Linked DNA regions of Homo sapiens: regions 1, 3, 4 and 5 are each linked to region 2. The links are contacts of gene promoters, found by promoter capture Hi-C in blood cells and fetal thymus (Javierre and others, 2016). All regions are on one chromosome and are shown on one strand. The core of a region is centred on a gene start or on the middle of the fragment in contact, and the rest is flanking DNA. Distances in the headings are between cores, read along the strand shown.

Region 1 (2,700 bases), core at 117-2,616, 410 kb before region 2:
AGCTGGGATTACAGGCGTGAGCCACCATGCCTGGCCCTGTCTGAAAGTTTATATCATATTTTTTATGATCTTTTTTAATTTTTTATTACTATTATTTTTTTGAGACGGAGTCTCGATCTGTCACCCAGGCTGCAGTGCAGTGGCGTGATCTCAACTCACTGCAAGCTCTACCTCCCAGGTTCACGCCATTCTCCTGCCTCAGCCTCCCAAGTAGCTGGGACTATAGGTGCCCGCCACCAAGCCTGGCTAATTTTTTGTATTTTTTAGTGGAGACAGGGTTTCACCACGTTAGCCAGGATGGTCTTGATCTCCTGACCTTGTGGTCTGCCTGCCTCAGCTTCCCAAAGTGCTGGGATTACAGGCATGAGCCACCGCACCCAGCAATCTTGTTTATTGATATCTCCTGTACTAGAATATAAGCCCCTGGCGGGCAAGAATCTTGGTTTCATTTGCTGTTTGTTTGGCACCTGGAACAGTGCCTGATACATGCTGGTGCTCAGCTGATATCTGCTGAATGAATGAATGTCCGGGAGTTGAGACCAGAACTGAATTCGCTGGCCCAGGCTGCTTGGGGAGTGAGTCACGATGGAAGGGCCGTGGTCCCTGTCGCAGAGGCATGGGCCCCTTCTGAGACCTTTGTGGGTAAATGCATTGATCCACCCTCTGACCTAGCTGGCAGCCAGCAAACACCCCTTGATTTGACCAGATTCTTTCCAATGCACCCCCCAGACCTTCTGCTCACCTAAAGACCAGATCCCTGAGTTCTGGTTTCTGCTGCTTCTTCTTATTCCTGGGAAAAGGACGTTAGGATGAGAGGCTCAGGGGGTGAGGCTGCAACCAGCGGTCCTCCTCCTTCTTCTCCAGCCCCCACCCTCCAGGCGGTCAGCCCTGTGCTGAGTCTCACCTCCTCTTCAGGAAGAAAATCAGCAGGCCCACGAGGATGAGAAACAGGAGGATGCCCACAAAGGCTCCGGCAATGACCCCTGTGGGGAGGAGGCATCGGGAACCCTCAGAGCGCAGGTCTGAGCTGCTCATCTGTCTCCAACCCTGCCCAGCCTTTCCTCTTCCCCAGGAGCCTGGTCCAAAGACAGCTGACCCCCGAACATCACACGGTGTGAATTGCGTCGGTCCAGTTATACTTACGCGCTTACCCATGGATTTTCCTCCACCCCTGAGACAGCAAGACCAGCCCCTCTCCTACCTCCTCCTCCTCCTCCGCCTACTCAACGCGAAGACTACAAGGAGGAAGACCTTTATGATGATCTACTTAATAAATAGCGAGTACATTTTCTCTTCCTTAGGATATTCTTAGTAACATTTTTTTCTTTAGCTACTTGATTATAAGAATACAGCATATAGTACGGCCGGGCGCGGTGGCTTACGCCTGTAATCCCAGCACTTTGGGAGGCGGAGATGGGCACATCACGAGGTCAGGAGATCGAGACCATCCTGGTTAACACGGTGAAACCCCATCTCCACTAAAAATACAAAAAATTAGCAGGGCGTGGTGGTGGGCGCCTGTAGTCCCAGCTACTCGGGAGGCTGAGGCAGGAGAATGGCGTGAACCCGGGAGGTGGAGCTTGCAGTGAGCCCAGATCACACTACTGCACTCCAGCCTGGGTAACAGAGCAAGACTCTGTCTCAAAAACAAACAAACAAACAAAAAGAATACAGTATGTAGTACATATTACAGATGAAATGTATGTTGTTTATGTTATTGGTAAGGCTTCCAATCAAGAGTAGGCTATTAGTAGTTAAGTTTTGGGGGAGTCAAAAGTTATGTGCAGATTTTTTTTTCTTTTTCTTTTTCTGAGACAGAGTCTTGCTCTGTCACCCAGGCTGCAGTGCAGTGGTGCGACCTCGGCTCACTGCAACCTCTGCCTCCCGGGTTCACGCCATTCTCCTGCCTCAGCCTCCTGAGTAGCTGGGACTACCGGTGCCCGCCACCACTCCTGGCTAATTTTTTGTATTTTTAGTAGAGTTGGGGTTTCACCGTGTTAGCCAGGGTGGTCCTGATCTCCTGACCTCGTGATCCACCTGCCTCAGCCTCCCAAAGTGCTGGGATTATAGGCATGAGCCACCATGCCCGGCTGTTATATGCAGATTTTCTACTGTGTAGGGGACAATTGTTCAAGGGTCAACTATCCATCATTTTCACAGGTGACCTGGTTGCTGAAGAGTGACTCCTGGCCAGGCATGGTGGCTCACCCCTGTAATCCCAACACTTTGGGAGGCTGAGGTGGGTGGATCACTTGAGCCCAGGAGTTTGAGACCAGCCTGGGCAACATAACAAAACCCAGTCTCTACTAAAAAAACAAAAGTTAGCTGGGTATGGTGGTGCACACCTGTCATCCCAACTACTCAGGAGGCTGAGCATAAGAGTCACTTGAACCCGGGAGGTGGAGGCTGCAGTGAGCTGAGATTGCACGACTGCACTCCAGACTGGGTGATAGAGTGAGACTCTGTCTCAAAAAAAAAAAAAAGAAAAAGAAAGCAAAACAAAACAAAAAGAACCCCAACAAAATAGCTGGGCATGGTAGTACATGCCTGTAGTCCCAGCTACTCAGGGGACTGAGGCAGGAGGATCACTTGAGCCTGGGAGGTGGAGGCTGTGGTGGGCATGATCGTATCACTGCACTCCAGCCTGGGCAACAGAGTGAGACCCTGTCTCAAAAAAGAACAAAACGAAACAAAACAAAA
Region 2 (2,700 bases), core at 17-2,516:
AAGTCCCCCACAATGTTCCCTAAGGATCTTGTATTCTTTGCCAAGCCCTTTTCCTTCCAAAAGGCCCTCCCACTCCCCTCTAAGCTCCTCCCACTCCTCTTCCAGGATGACCACTTAGCGAATGGGAGGGCAAAGATTTGGGGCTAAGCACACTGGAGTCATCCTTGCAGGGAGACCAGAATTACTCCTGTAACATCAGATAATAAAAATTCTTCATCTGTAAAATGGGAATAGTAGTACCTACCTCATGGAGTGGTGGCGAGAATTAAGTAAAATTGTGGCAATAAATGCTACGTGCCCACTTAAGCTGGTGCACAGCAAAGACGCAACAAGTAAGCTGTTTGGATGACTATTATCCCGTAAGTTCCTCCTGGATTCCTCCTTAAGTCCTACCATGATTGCTAAGTTATTTGACTTATCTAAGCCCCTCTCGGGTCCACTAAGACCCACTTCCAAAACTCCACCCAATTTTTCCTTTAAAGAAGCCACATCCTTTCTAAGACTCTCCACTGGACTCCCGTCACCTTCTCAGGCCTTCTCTACGAAGTCTATTCCCATCCCCTGCAAGTCCTTTCCACATTCATTATAAAGACCTGATAGTTGCATTAAACCCCTCCAAATTACACCCTTAAACTCCACCCCCCTCACTAGGCCTACCTACTTCTCTAAGCCACACCCCAGACAAACTCCATCCCTTCTACTCTAAACTCCTCCCTCCTGCTTCCTGGGCTCCCTTTACCCAACCAGCCTCAATGAGTTTCCTTCCACCCCTCAATCCAGGGCCTACCCACCATTCCTTCTGAGCCACGCCCCTTTATCAAACCCCACCTCTTTGCCTAAGACCCTCCCATTTTCTATCCAGACTCTCCCTCCTCCACGCCCCTCCCACTTCCACTCTAAGCTCCGCCCAACTCAGGCTCCTCCCAGCCCTTGCTCCGCCCCAGCAGCCACTAGGCCCCGCCTCCTCCTCCACCCCGCAGCCTGAGGAGCGGGCCCCCCCACTTGCCCAGTCTGCTCCAGGCCCCAGGCCCCGAGAGCCGGCCTTTTGTGCCCCTCCCCCTGCCCCTAAAAGGTGCAGCCCTGGGCGCCCGGTTGGGGGGCAGGTCGGGCAGGCCCCGGGGCCAGGCGAGTCCACCTCGCTCGTACGGAGCGTTGGTCCTGGAGACCCGGGGCGGCCCCGGGAGGCCGGGGAAGTCCGTCGGCTTTCCTCTTTAATTACTTACACCTCCCTCTGGGCGCCGACATTTTGGGCAGCGGGGGCAGCGTCACTTCCACCCGGGGGGCCCCTCGACTTCCGCCTCAGCTCCCTTCCCCCGCCGTACTCCCCCTTTCTCCCGCCCTCTTGGCTCCCCTTCCTCATCCCCGCCCTTCTCCCTCTTTCCCTTTCCTTTCCCAGCCCTGGAGGTTGAAGAAGCCAGGCCCGCGCCATCTTGGGTGAGGGCAGCGGGAAGGGGCGGGGCTTAGGGACACCCACGGCGCCATACAGACTAAGGGCAAGGAGCTGAGAGCGAGGGGGCTTCTCCGTGGCGACACTAGGCGATGCTAACGTAAATGAGAGCAGATACTATTTCTTTTTCACAGCCTCGGACTCCTCCGATTAGGATGTACAGTTGGACTAGGGAAAAAAAAAGAAAGCGAAGTGCGCCAACTGCAATACAGAGCTGGAAAAGACCGGCACCATCTTATCCACTTAGCACTCCATGGGCTTCGAAGCCTGTCCGGTGCCATGTTAATTACGGGCACTGGGCAGCCATTTTCCCGCTCCTCATCATTCGGTATCTGTCTTTGGGTCACCCGACTGTGGGCTTTGTGAGAGGAAAGGCGTTTCGAGGTGGTTGGGGATGTGGTGCTGGGTTATTTCCCACTGGGGACACACCAGGGCCGCCGGTGCGCAGGCGCGGCTTCCGGGCGTGGCCGCGACCGGTCGTTAGGACCCAGCGAGTCCCCTTTGTTTCCCGCGGGCGCGCAGGCGGGCGGGAAGGGCAGGAAGGGAGGGGCCCGGCGCTTCTCCGAGGGGCGGGGCCGGCACCGCGCGCCGCCGCCCCCGCCTCGCCGCCGCCGAGGGGCAGGGCCCCCTCACCCCCTCCCCTTCCCACGCGCCGGCCCCGTTGCCCCCGCGCGCGCGCACACTCGCGAGCCCCGGCGACATGCAAATGAGGTACCCGAGAGGCGGGGGGCGCAGGCGGGAGGGGGGGTGTGGGGGTAGGGGAGGCCGGGCCGCGCGCTCCCGGAGCGCGCCTCCAACACCTGTTCCTGCTCCCGCGCTCGCGCCCCGCGAAGCCGTCCGGGCGCGCGCGCGCAGACCCCCTTCCTGGCAGCCCCCGCCGCCCGCTTACCCGGCGCCGCTCATTGGCCGTCGCCCCCGCAGGGCCCGCCCCGCGCTTGGGCTTCGCAGCTCGGGGGCCGATGGGCGCGTCAGTACCGGGGCGAGGGGACGGGGAGGGTCGGGGGACCAGTCTCCCCCTTTCCACCGTTCCAAAGACCAGACTCCTAGACTAGGCTACCCCGTGGGAGCGAACCGTATGGAAAGGTGGTTGCTCCTCTCTGGACAGCAGTCTATGTGGCTGTTAAAGGGGAGGGGGGGGTGCAGGGGGGCACCTGCAGCACCTGCTTCCAGCTGCACCTGTGCCTCCCCTTCCCCTCCGTTACACCCCAATCCCATGCTCCCAGTATCTGAGTGGGCGCCGGGAAGATGGTGGT
Region 3 (2,700 bases), core at 151-2,650, 510 kb before region 2:
GGCCCCCTCGGCTCCTGGGGACTCTGCTCCCCTCCCAGTCCGGAGGTCCCAGGGGGGCTATGGCTTCTCTGAGACTTCCCCCGGAGCCCTGTCACTCGTGTTCACACGGGGGAAGGGGTGCGTGTGGCAGAAGCAGCTGTATAAATACGGGTGCGGGAAAGTCCCTCCGGGTCACTTGGAGAGTTTGCTGATGACGCGGATCAACGCTGCATTCTCATCCTTGAGGCGCTGGTTGTCAGCGCGGAGGTCAGACAGGGCCTGGGGGACGGCAAGGGTCAGCTGGGCAGCCCTGGCGGGTTGCACCCCCACCCACCCTCGGCCCTCTGCCCACAGCCCCCACAGCCCCCACCTTCAGCTCCTCCTCCAGCTCTGCGGCCTTGCGTTCCAGGGCCCTGCGCTCCTGGAATGAACAGGGAAAGTGCAGAAACTGAGTGAGGCTGAGGAGGGCAGGGGAAGGCCAGGGGCCAGCTGGGAAGGGCAATGTGGCTCCCTTGGTCCAAACTTAGGGATGTGAGGCTGGGGACGCCTCTGGCCCCCATCCCCACTGCCCCTACTCACGAATCTCTCCAGTTCCAGGAGGGCTGGCCTCTCAGCGAAGCGTTCTTGCCTCTGGTGAGGACACAGAAAGCACAGGGGTCAGCAGAAGAAGCCAGCACTGCTCTGAAGGGTCCTAGGCTCCTGCTGGGCACCCGCCCGCCCACTAGGCAGCCCACAAGCCCTTCCCCCACGGGCCAGGCCCCGCCACCGGCAGGCCCACAGCCCCATCCCCTCGCTCAGACTCCGCCTCCGAGATCTCGGCCCCGCCCCTCAAGTGAAGCCCAGCCCCGCCGGCACCCCCAGGCCAGGCTCTACCTCCCAGCAGTCTAAGCCCCACCCAGGCGGCCCTGCCAGTTCCCGTGACCCTGGCCTCGGCGCCCTTACCTGCGTGGCCCGCTCCAGCTCCACCTTGAGCTGCGCCAGCCGCAGCGTGGTCTCGGTCAGGGCCTCGCGAAGCCGCTCGTTCTCCCTGCGCAGCTCTGCATACAGCTGGGGGTCAGGTAGAGGAGGGTCAGGTGGAGGATGGGGCGATGCTGGGGGGGCGGGGAAGCCAGGAAGCTGGGCACCCAGCAGGCAAAGCCCCGACGGAGGGGTGGGATCGCACCGTCCTAAAGCCTCCGTCTGGCTCTTCCGATTCTGGCTCAGGTTCTGGGTTGAGGTCCCGCTGCCACCGCTGCCTGCGGGCCGAGGGGCCGCCCTCCAGGGTGCTGGGGCAGGGGAGGAGCGCGCGTCAGGGGCCGGCCCGGCCCGCACGCAGACCCCACCTCTCCCACCCCGCCCCTACCTGGACTCCTGGCTGCGGTCAGCCGGCTCCGCCTCCTCCCCCTGTGGGCAGGTAGACGGGGGTTCAATGGGTATGGGAGGGACTTTAGCGGGTATGGGAAGGGCTTTGCCCGCCCCCCGGCCCACCCTCTGCACCAGCTCGGCCCCACCTGAGCCCCTCACCTCCGCAGGCCCCCTCCACTCCTTTCCGACCTTGCGGTGCTCCCTGGCCGCCTGCGGTCCCGGACCCTGCCCGTCGGGCGCCTCTGCTGGGGGAGGGGCAGGAATCAGCCCAGGCACCTCCAGAGCCCCCTCTCGGTGCCTGGGTCCCCGGGTCAAGCCCCCAGGAAAGCAAGAAGACTATGGGAGAAACTGGATGATTCCCTGGGAATGACCTCCCCGAGAGCAGACCTCACCTCTCTGGGCAGGGCTGTCAGAGTTCTCCACTCCAGGGACGCGGGGCCTTCGGGAAGGGTCCTGTCGGGAGGGGGAGGCGAGTCAGGGAAGCAGGACATCCCGCACCACCCCACTCGCCCTCGCTGACCCCTCTCACCAGGCTCTGCGCCGGCTTCTCTGACTCTGGGGCCTTCCCTGCAGCCTTCTCTGCCTCCTTCAGGTCTGTAAGAGTCACACCCTGGCAGGGAAAGGGGACAGTCAGGGGACGCTGGGGTCAGGGCCCAGCCCCTCCTCCCTCAGACCCAGGAGCCCAGGCCCCAGCCCCTCCTCCCTCAGACCCAGGAGCCCAGACCCCAGCCCCTCCTCCCTCAGACCCAGGAGTCCAGACCTCCAGCCCCTCCTCCCTCAGACCCAGGAGTCCAGGCCCCAGCCCCTCCTCCCTCAGACCCAGGAGTCCAGACCTCCAGCCCCTCCTCCCTCAGACCCAGGAGTCCAGGCCCCAGCCCCTCCTCCCTCAGACCCAGGAGTCCAGACCTCCAGCCCCTCCTCCCTCAGACCCAGGAGCCCAGGCCCCAGCCCCTCCTCCCTCAGACCCAGGAGTCCAGACCTCCAGCCCCTCCTCCCTCAGACCCAGGAGCCCAGACCCCAGCCCCTCCTCCCTCAGACCCAGGAGCCCAGGCCCCAGCCCCTCCTCCCTCAGACCCAGGAGCCCAGACCCCAGCCCCTCCTCCCTCAGACCCAGGAGCCCAGGCCCCAGCCCCTCCTCCCTCAGACCCAGGAGCCCAGACCCCAGCCCCTCCTCCCTCAGACCCAGGAGTCCAGGCCCCAGCCCCTCCTCCCTCAGACCCAGGAGTCCAGACCTCCAGCCCCTCCTCCCTCAGACCCAGGAGCCCAGACCCCAGCCCCTCCTCCCTCAGACCCAGGAGTCCAGGCCCCAGCCCCTCCTCCCTCAGACCCAGGAGCCCAGGCCCCAGCCCCTCCTCCCTCAGACCCAGGAGTCCAGGC
Region 4 (2,700 bases), core at 20-2,519, 380 kb before region 2:
CCTGTAATCCCAGCACTTTGGGAGGCCGAGGCGGGTGGATCACTTTAGGTCAGGAATTCGAGACCAGTGCGGCCAATATGGTTCTGAAAATCCCGTCTCTACTAAAAAGACAAAAATTAGCCAGGCGTGGTGGCAGGCTCCTGTAATCCCAGCTACTCGGGAGGCTGAGGCAGGAGAATAGCTTGAACCCGGAGGTGGAGGCTGCGGTGAGTCAAGATCGTGCCACTGCACTCCAGCCTGGGCGACAGAGCGAGACTCCGTCTCAAAAAAAGAAAAAACAAAAACAAAACAAAACAAAACAAAAACTATGAGAAAATTCCATCCCCCATTGTTCGGAACCCAGGAATCTGGGCGCTGTGTGGTTTTCCATAAAAACTGGTATATTCGTTTGCTAGGGCTACTACAACAAAGAGCATAGACTAGGTGACCCAAACAGCAGAGATTTGTTTTCCCACCGTTCTGGAGGCTGGAGGTCCAAGATGAAAATGTGGGCAGGGTTGGTTCCTCCTGAGGCCTCTTTCTCCTTGGCTTGCAAATGGCCGTGTTCTCCCTTGTCCTCCATGTGTCTGTGTCCTAACCTCCTCTTCTGATAAGGACACCAGTCAGGTTGGATTATGGCCCACCTTAGTGTGACTTTTTTTTTTTTTTTTTTGAGACAGCATCTCACTCTGTCTCCCAGGCTGGAGTGCAGTGGTACGAACACAGCTCACTGCAGCCTCTACATCCTGGGCTCAAGTGATCCTCCCACCTCAGCCTCCTGAGTAGCTGGGACTACAGTGGCACATCACCATGCCTGGCTTACATATATATATATATATATATATATATATATATATATATATATATATATATATAATGTATATATATATAAAATGTATATATATGTGTATATATATATAATGTATATATATGTGTGTATATATAATGTATATATATATAATGTGTATATATATAATGTATATATATATAATGTGTATATATATAATGTATATATATATAATGTGTATATATATAATGTATATATATATAATGTGTATATATATATAATGTATATATATATAATGTGTATATATATATAATGTATATATATATTTATTTATTTATTTTAGACCGAGTCTTGCTCTGTTGCCAAGGCTGGAGTGCAGTCCCGCGATCTCGGCTCACTGCAACCTCTGCCTACCAGGTTCAAGCGATTCTCCTGCCTCAGCCTCCTGAGTAGGTGGGATTACAGGTGCCCACCACCATACCCGGCTATTTTTTTTTTTTTTTTGAGACAGAGTTTTGCTCGTCGCCCAGGCTGGAGTGCAATGGCATGATCTCAGCTCACTGCAACCTCTGCCTCCCGTATTCAAGAGATTCTCCTGCCTCAGCCTCCTGAGTAGCTGGGATTACAGGTGCCTGCCACCACACCCACCTAATTTTTTTGTATTTTTAGTTGAGATGGGGTTTCACCATGTTGGCCAGGCTGGTCTTGAACTCCTGACCTCAGGTGATCCACCCGCCTCGGCCTCTCAAAGTGCTGGGATTACAGGCGTGAGCCACCATGCCTGGCCTAATTTTTTTATTTTTAAGTAGAGACAGGGTTTCACCATGTTGGCCAGGCTGGTCTTGAACTCCTGACCTCAAGTGATCCACCTGCCTCTGCGTCTCAAAGTGCTGGGATTACAGCCGTGAGCCACCATGCCCAGCTTGGCTAATTAAAAAAAAATCTGGGGAGATGGGGTTCTCACCGTGCTGCCCAGGAAGATTTCAAACTCCTGGGCTCAAGCAATCCATCTGCCTCAGCATCTCAAAGTGACCTCATTTTATCTTAATCACCTCTTCAAAGACCCTGTCTCCAAATACAATCACATTCTGAGGTACTGGAGGTTGGGACGCCAACTTACAAATTTTTGAAGGAGGATGAAATTCAGTTCATAATAGCAGGGATGAGCTTTATGCCCCCTGAAAAAGACATACTTCCCCAGGTAGATTCATCTGTTAGTGTTTTTTGTTTTGTTTTAGACAAAGTCCCACTCTGTCACCCAGGCTGCAGTGCAATGGCACGATCTTGGCTCACTGCAACCTCCACCTCCCGGATTCAAGCGATTATCCTGCCTCACCCTCCTGAGTAGCTGGGATTACTGGCGCCCACCACCATGCCCAGCTAATTTTTGTATTTTCAGTAGAGATGGGGTTTCGCCATATGGGCCAGGCTGGTCTGGAACTCCTGACCTCAAGTGATCCACCTGTCTTGGCCTCCCAAAGTGCTTTCTTTTTTCTTTTTTCTCTTTTTTTTTTTTTTTGAGACAGAGTCTCACTCTGTCGCCCAGGCTGGAGTGCAGTGGCGTGATCTCGGCTCACTGCAAGCTCTGCCTCCCGGGTTCACACCATTCTCCTGTCTCAGCCTCCCGAGTAGCCGCCACCATGCCTGGCTAATTTTTTGTATTTTTAGTAGAGACGGGGTTTCACCGTGTTAGCCAGGATGGTCTCGATCTCCTGACCTTGTTATCTGCCCACCTCAGCCTCCTGAAGTGCTGGGATTACAGGCATGAGCCACCGCACCCGGCCCCAAAGTGCTTTCAAAGTATTGATTCAAAACTATGGCACAATCCCAACCCCACCCCCACTGCTCAGAACCCAGGGAGCATTGGGTTTGGTAGATTCCTTCTTCCACACCCAGAATAAATTTTCTCAGCTCCATTCCCCAAATGATGCTGA
Region 5 (2,700 bases), core at 4-2,503, 300 kb before region 2:
CCCCCTAGAAAAGTCATGGGGATGGGTTTCCAGAACCTGCTCGTCAGTCCCCAGGGTGACTGGGATCGCCAGCTGAGCCGCAGCCCAAGGTCCAGCACAGCTGCCGCTCCAAACTGGGGAGGGGGCTACGCAAGATTGGGGCGGGGAGCTCCAGGCAGCGGGAGGGCGCAGGAGTAAGGAGGCGAACAGGATGCCACTGCGCATGCGGCAAAGTAATGCGGCCGGTCCGGGGTACACGGAGACCGCGCGTGCGCGGGGCGATGCACTCAGTCGCCACTAGAGGGCGATGTAATATGTCATCCTGCCCCCGGTGGGGTGGGCGGGGAGATGATCAGGGACCCCAAAACCACCCCAGTCTTTCATTGCGCGCCTACATGTGCCTACGACCTCACTTCTGCTTCTCTACGACTCACCACCCTCACAGCTGGAGCAAATTCAGAAACATCCTTGGTACCTGTGAGTATGGGGTAACTGGACTCTTGGGTCCCTGGCGGAAATAGGGGAGGGGCCAAAGCAGTAGAAGCGGCTGGGAGGGGTGGGATGCCAGGGTTCCTGAGAGGCAACGGGCTAGGGACTCGGACTTATGGGTCCTGGGGGAAGAGGACACAGCTAGAGAAGGAGTCTAGGGGTCAGAGGCAGGAGGGGCTAAGCTAGGAGTCCAGGACTCCCAGGTTTGAGGGAAAAAGGGACTGGGGGCCTGGACTCCTGGATCCGAGGGAGGAGGGGCTGGGGGCCTGGACTTCTGGGTCTGAAGAAGGAGGGGCCGGGGGCCTGGACCCCTCGGTCGGAGGGAAAAGGGGCTGGAGGTCTGGACTCCTGGGTCTGAGATGGGGGGCGAGGTCTGGGGCGTCTGGATTCCTGGGTATGAGAGAGAAGGGGCCGGGGCCTAGACTCGGATTTCGGGGTCCGGGATCATTGAGTCTAGAATGAAGAATGCTGAATCTCAGAAGCCCGGTTCCCAATAATGTTTCTCCACTTCCCCAGAGGCGGGAAACACGAGCCAGACCCGTGCCTGGAGCCAGCCCCTGGCCGCCGGGTAGCCATGCGGAGCCTGCCATCCAACGGAGAGCTGGACCCCGACGTCCTAGAGAGCATGGCATCACTGGGCTGCTTCAGGGACCGCGAGAGGCTGCATCGCGAGCTGCGCAGTGAGGAGTAAGACCCCAAGACCCCTGCACCCGTGTACCCACGTGGGGCGAGCTGCAGCAGCTCCCTGCGCACATGCAGAGTGCTGGGCGAGGAACCCTGGCCTCTCATGGGGCATGGTTTGAAGCTCCCGCCTGGGAGTGATGGAACCAGCGGAGAAAACGGCCCAGAAACACGCTGAGAAAGTATTAATAGATGCTGCGACATAGTACTTACATATACATAGTACTTACAAATAGTTCTTGCCTGGATGTTAGGTGTTACAGTGTTATTATAATTGAGTGAAACACAGCTGAGATGTACCCTAAACCAGAGAAACTGACCATACTGATACCTAGAAAAAATGGAACCATGGGCAGAAATACAGGGAGCGGAGGAGACCTCCTCTGAGCATTGATGTTGGACCTCAGCCCTCTGCTACCTCTTTCCACCTTTCCCACCCCCTGCCTTAGGGAGAACCAAGAAAAGATGATATATTATCTGCTTTTGGATCGGAAGGAGCGGTATCCCAGCTGTGAGGACCAGGACCTGCCTCCCCGGAATGATGTTGGTGAGAAGGCAGGGCTAGGGGACCAGACACCTGGGTCTCGAGATTGGAAGAGGCTGGCCACGGGGACCCCAGATTCCCAAGGAAAGAAGGGGCTGCAGGCTCTGAGCTTCCAGCTTTAGACTGCTTGACTTGCTCTTTGACATTTATCAAATCCCCTCTCCACTCTAGGCCTGTTTCCCCATGTGTGCAGTTTCTGAGGCAGTTGTACACAGCTGGGTGAAACCATCTCTTGATTGGGTTGAAACTGTTGTCCCTCAGACCCCCCCCGGAAGCGTGTGGATTCTCCCATGCTGAGCCGTCACGGGAAGCGGCGACCAGAGCGGAAGTCCATGGAAGTCCTGAGCATCACCGATGCCGGGGGTGGTGGCTCCCCTGTACCCACCCGACGGGCCTTGGAGATGGCCCAGCACAGCCAGAGGTGGGAGCCCCTGTCCCTCCAGGAGGATCCACAATCCCTGGGTCTAGGAGTTCAAGATTCTAACCCCAGCTCTACCTCAAATGTGCTGTGTCCTTGGGACAATTCACCTCCCCTCTCTGGGCCTCATTTCCTCACCTGGAAGGACTGTAGAAGTGAGGGAACATCTGTGGTTTTTGAAACCCTCCCATCTGATTTTTTTTTTTTAAATCTATCCTGGAAACAGATCCCGTAGCGTCAGTGGAGCCTCCACGGGTCTGTCCTCCAGCCCTCTAAGCAGCCCAAGGGTAAGGCCAGGTCCCCAGTGGGATTTAAGAAGGAGAAAGGGGTGGAGACATGGAGCAAAGATTGAGTAGCAGAAACTACAATTCCTGTGCAGTCTTGAGACTTGCTTCTTTGTCCCTGGAGGGCCAAAGACCCAAGGCCTCCAAAGTATTTTGGTCCATTGGCCATTTCTACCTCCTTAGGATTGCATGCCTGAAGAGATTTTACAAAAGTTAGTTGAGTGCCTGCTGTGTACTAGTATCTGCACCGGCTGGGTTTTCAGCCCACAGCATGATAGAAAGTCTTTGCTATCCTTGCTCTGGGG

What was found. The method cuts DNA at HindIII sites, captures the fragments that hold promoters and counts their contacts. A CHiCAGO score of 5 or more calls a contact.
Region 1: a contact is called between a fragment that was not itself captured here and the fragment with the promoter of FIZ1 in region 2, in 2 of 17 cell types (fetal thymus and naive CD4 T cells). The highest score is 6.4, in fetal thymus.
Region 3: a contact is called between a fragment that was not itself captured here and the fragment with the promoter of FIZ1 in region 2, in 4 of 17 cell types (non-activated CD4 T cells, naive CD8 T cells, naive CD4 T cells and 1 more). The highest score is 5.9, in non-activated CD4 T cells.
Region 4: a fragment that was not itself captured here is called in contact with the fragment with the promoter of FIZ1 in region 2 in 1 of 17 cell types (fetal thymus); the score reaches 6.0 in fetal thymus.
Region 5: a contact is called between a fragment that was not itself captured here and the fragment with the promoter of FIZ1 in region 2, in 1 of 17 cell types (fetal thymus). The highest score is 6.2, in fetal thymus.

The regions. Positions count from the first base shown.
Region 1 is chr19:55,190,759-55,193,458 of GRCh38, forward strand. PTPRH (protein tyrosine phosphatase receptor type H) reads right to left here. Exons shown (of 20, transcript NM_002842.5): 11 at 905-983; 12 at 743-790. Among named protein-coding and RNA genes, the nearest start is that of SYT5, 12 kb to the left of the region's middle. The HindIII fragment of the contact is 4,918 bases long and covers 1-2,700 here.
Region 2 is chr19:55,598,251-55,600,950 of GRCh38, forward strand. It overlaps FIZ1 (FLT3 interacting zinc finger 1), which reads right to left and starts at 1,267. Exons shown (of 3, transcript NM_032836.3): 1 at 1,224-1,267. It overlaps ZNF524 (zinc finger protein 524), which reads left to right and starts at 2,038. Exons shown (of 2, transcript NM_153219.4): 1 at 2,038-2,158. RefSeq lists enhancers at 638-1,512, 1,513-2,386 and silencers at 864-1,283, 1,994-2,543. The HindIII fragment of the contact is 10,107 bases long and covers 1-2,700 here.
Region 3 is chr19:55,091,301-55,094,000 of GRCh38, forward strand. It overlaps PPP1R12C (protein phosphatase 1 regulatory subunit 12C), which reads right to left. Exons shown (of 22, transcript NM_017607.4): 14 at 1,853-1,933; 15 at 1,716-1,776; 16 at 1,483-1,568; 17 at 1,322-1,362; 18 at 1,142-1,244; 19 at 922-1,026; 20 at 559-609; 21 at 350-400; 22 at 1-258. The coding sequence ends at 172. Among named protein-coding and RNA genes, the nearest start is that of EPS8L1, 17 kb to the left of the region's middle. The HindIII fragment of the contact is 7,228 bases long and covers 1-2,700 here.
Region 4 is chr19:55,217,480-55,220,179 of GRCh38, forward strand. No RefSeq gene overlaps it. Among named protein-coding and RNA genes, the nearest start is that of PTPRH, 9.3 kb to the left of the region's middle. RefSeq lists a silencer at 470-656. The HindIII fragment of the contact is 5,191 bases long and covers 1-2,700 here.
Region 5 is chr19:55,301,713-55,304,412 of GRCh38, forward strand. BRSK1 (BR serine/threonine kinase 1) reads left to right here. Exons shown (of 19, transcript NM_032430.2): 9 at 425-456; 10 at 985-1,155; 11 at 1,599-1,696; 12 at 1,955-2,114; 13 at 2,338-2,398. Among named protein-coding and RNA genes, the nearest start is that of BRSK1, 19 kb to the left of the region's middle. RefSeq lists a silencer at 1,529-1,823. The HindIII fragment of the contact is 7,445 bases long and covers 1-2,700 here.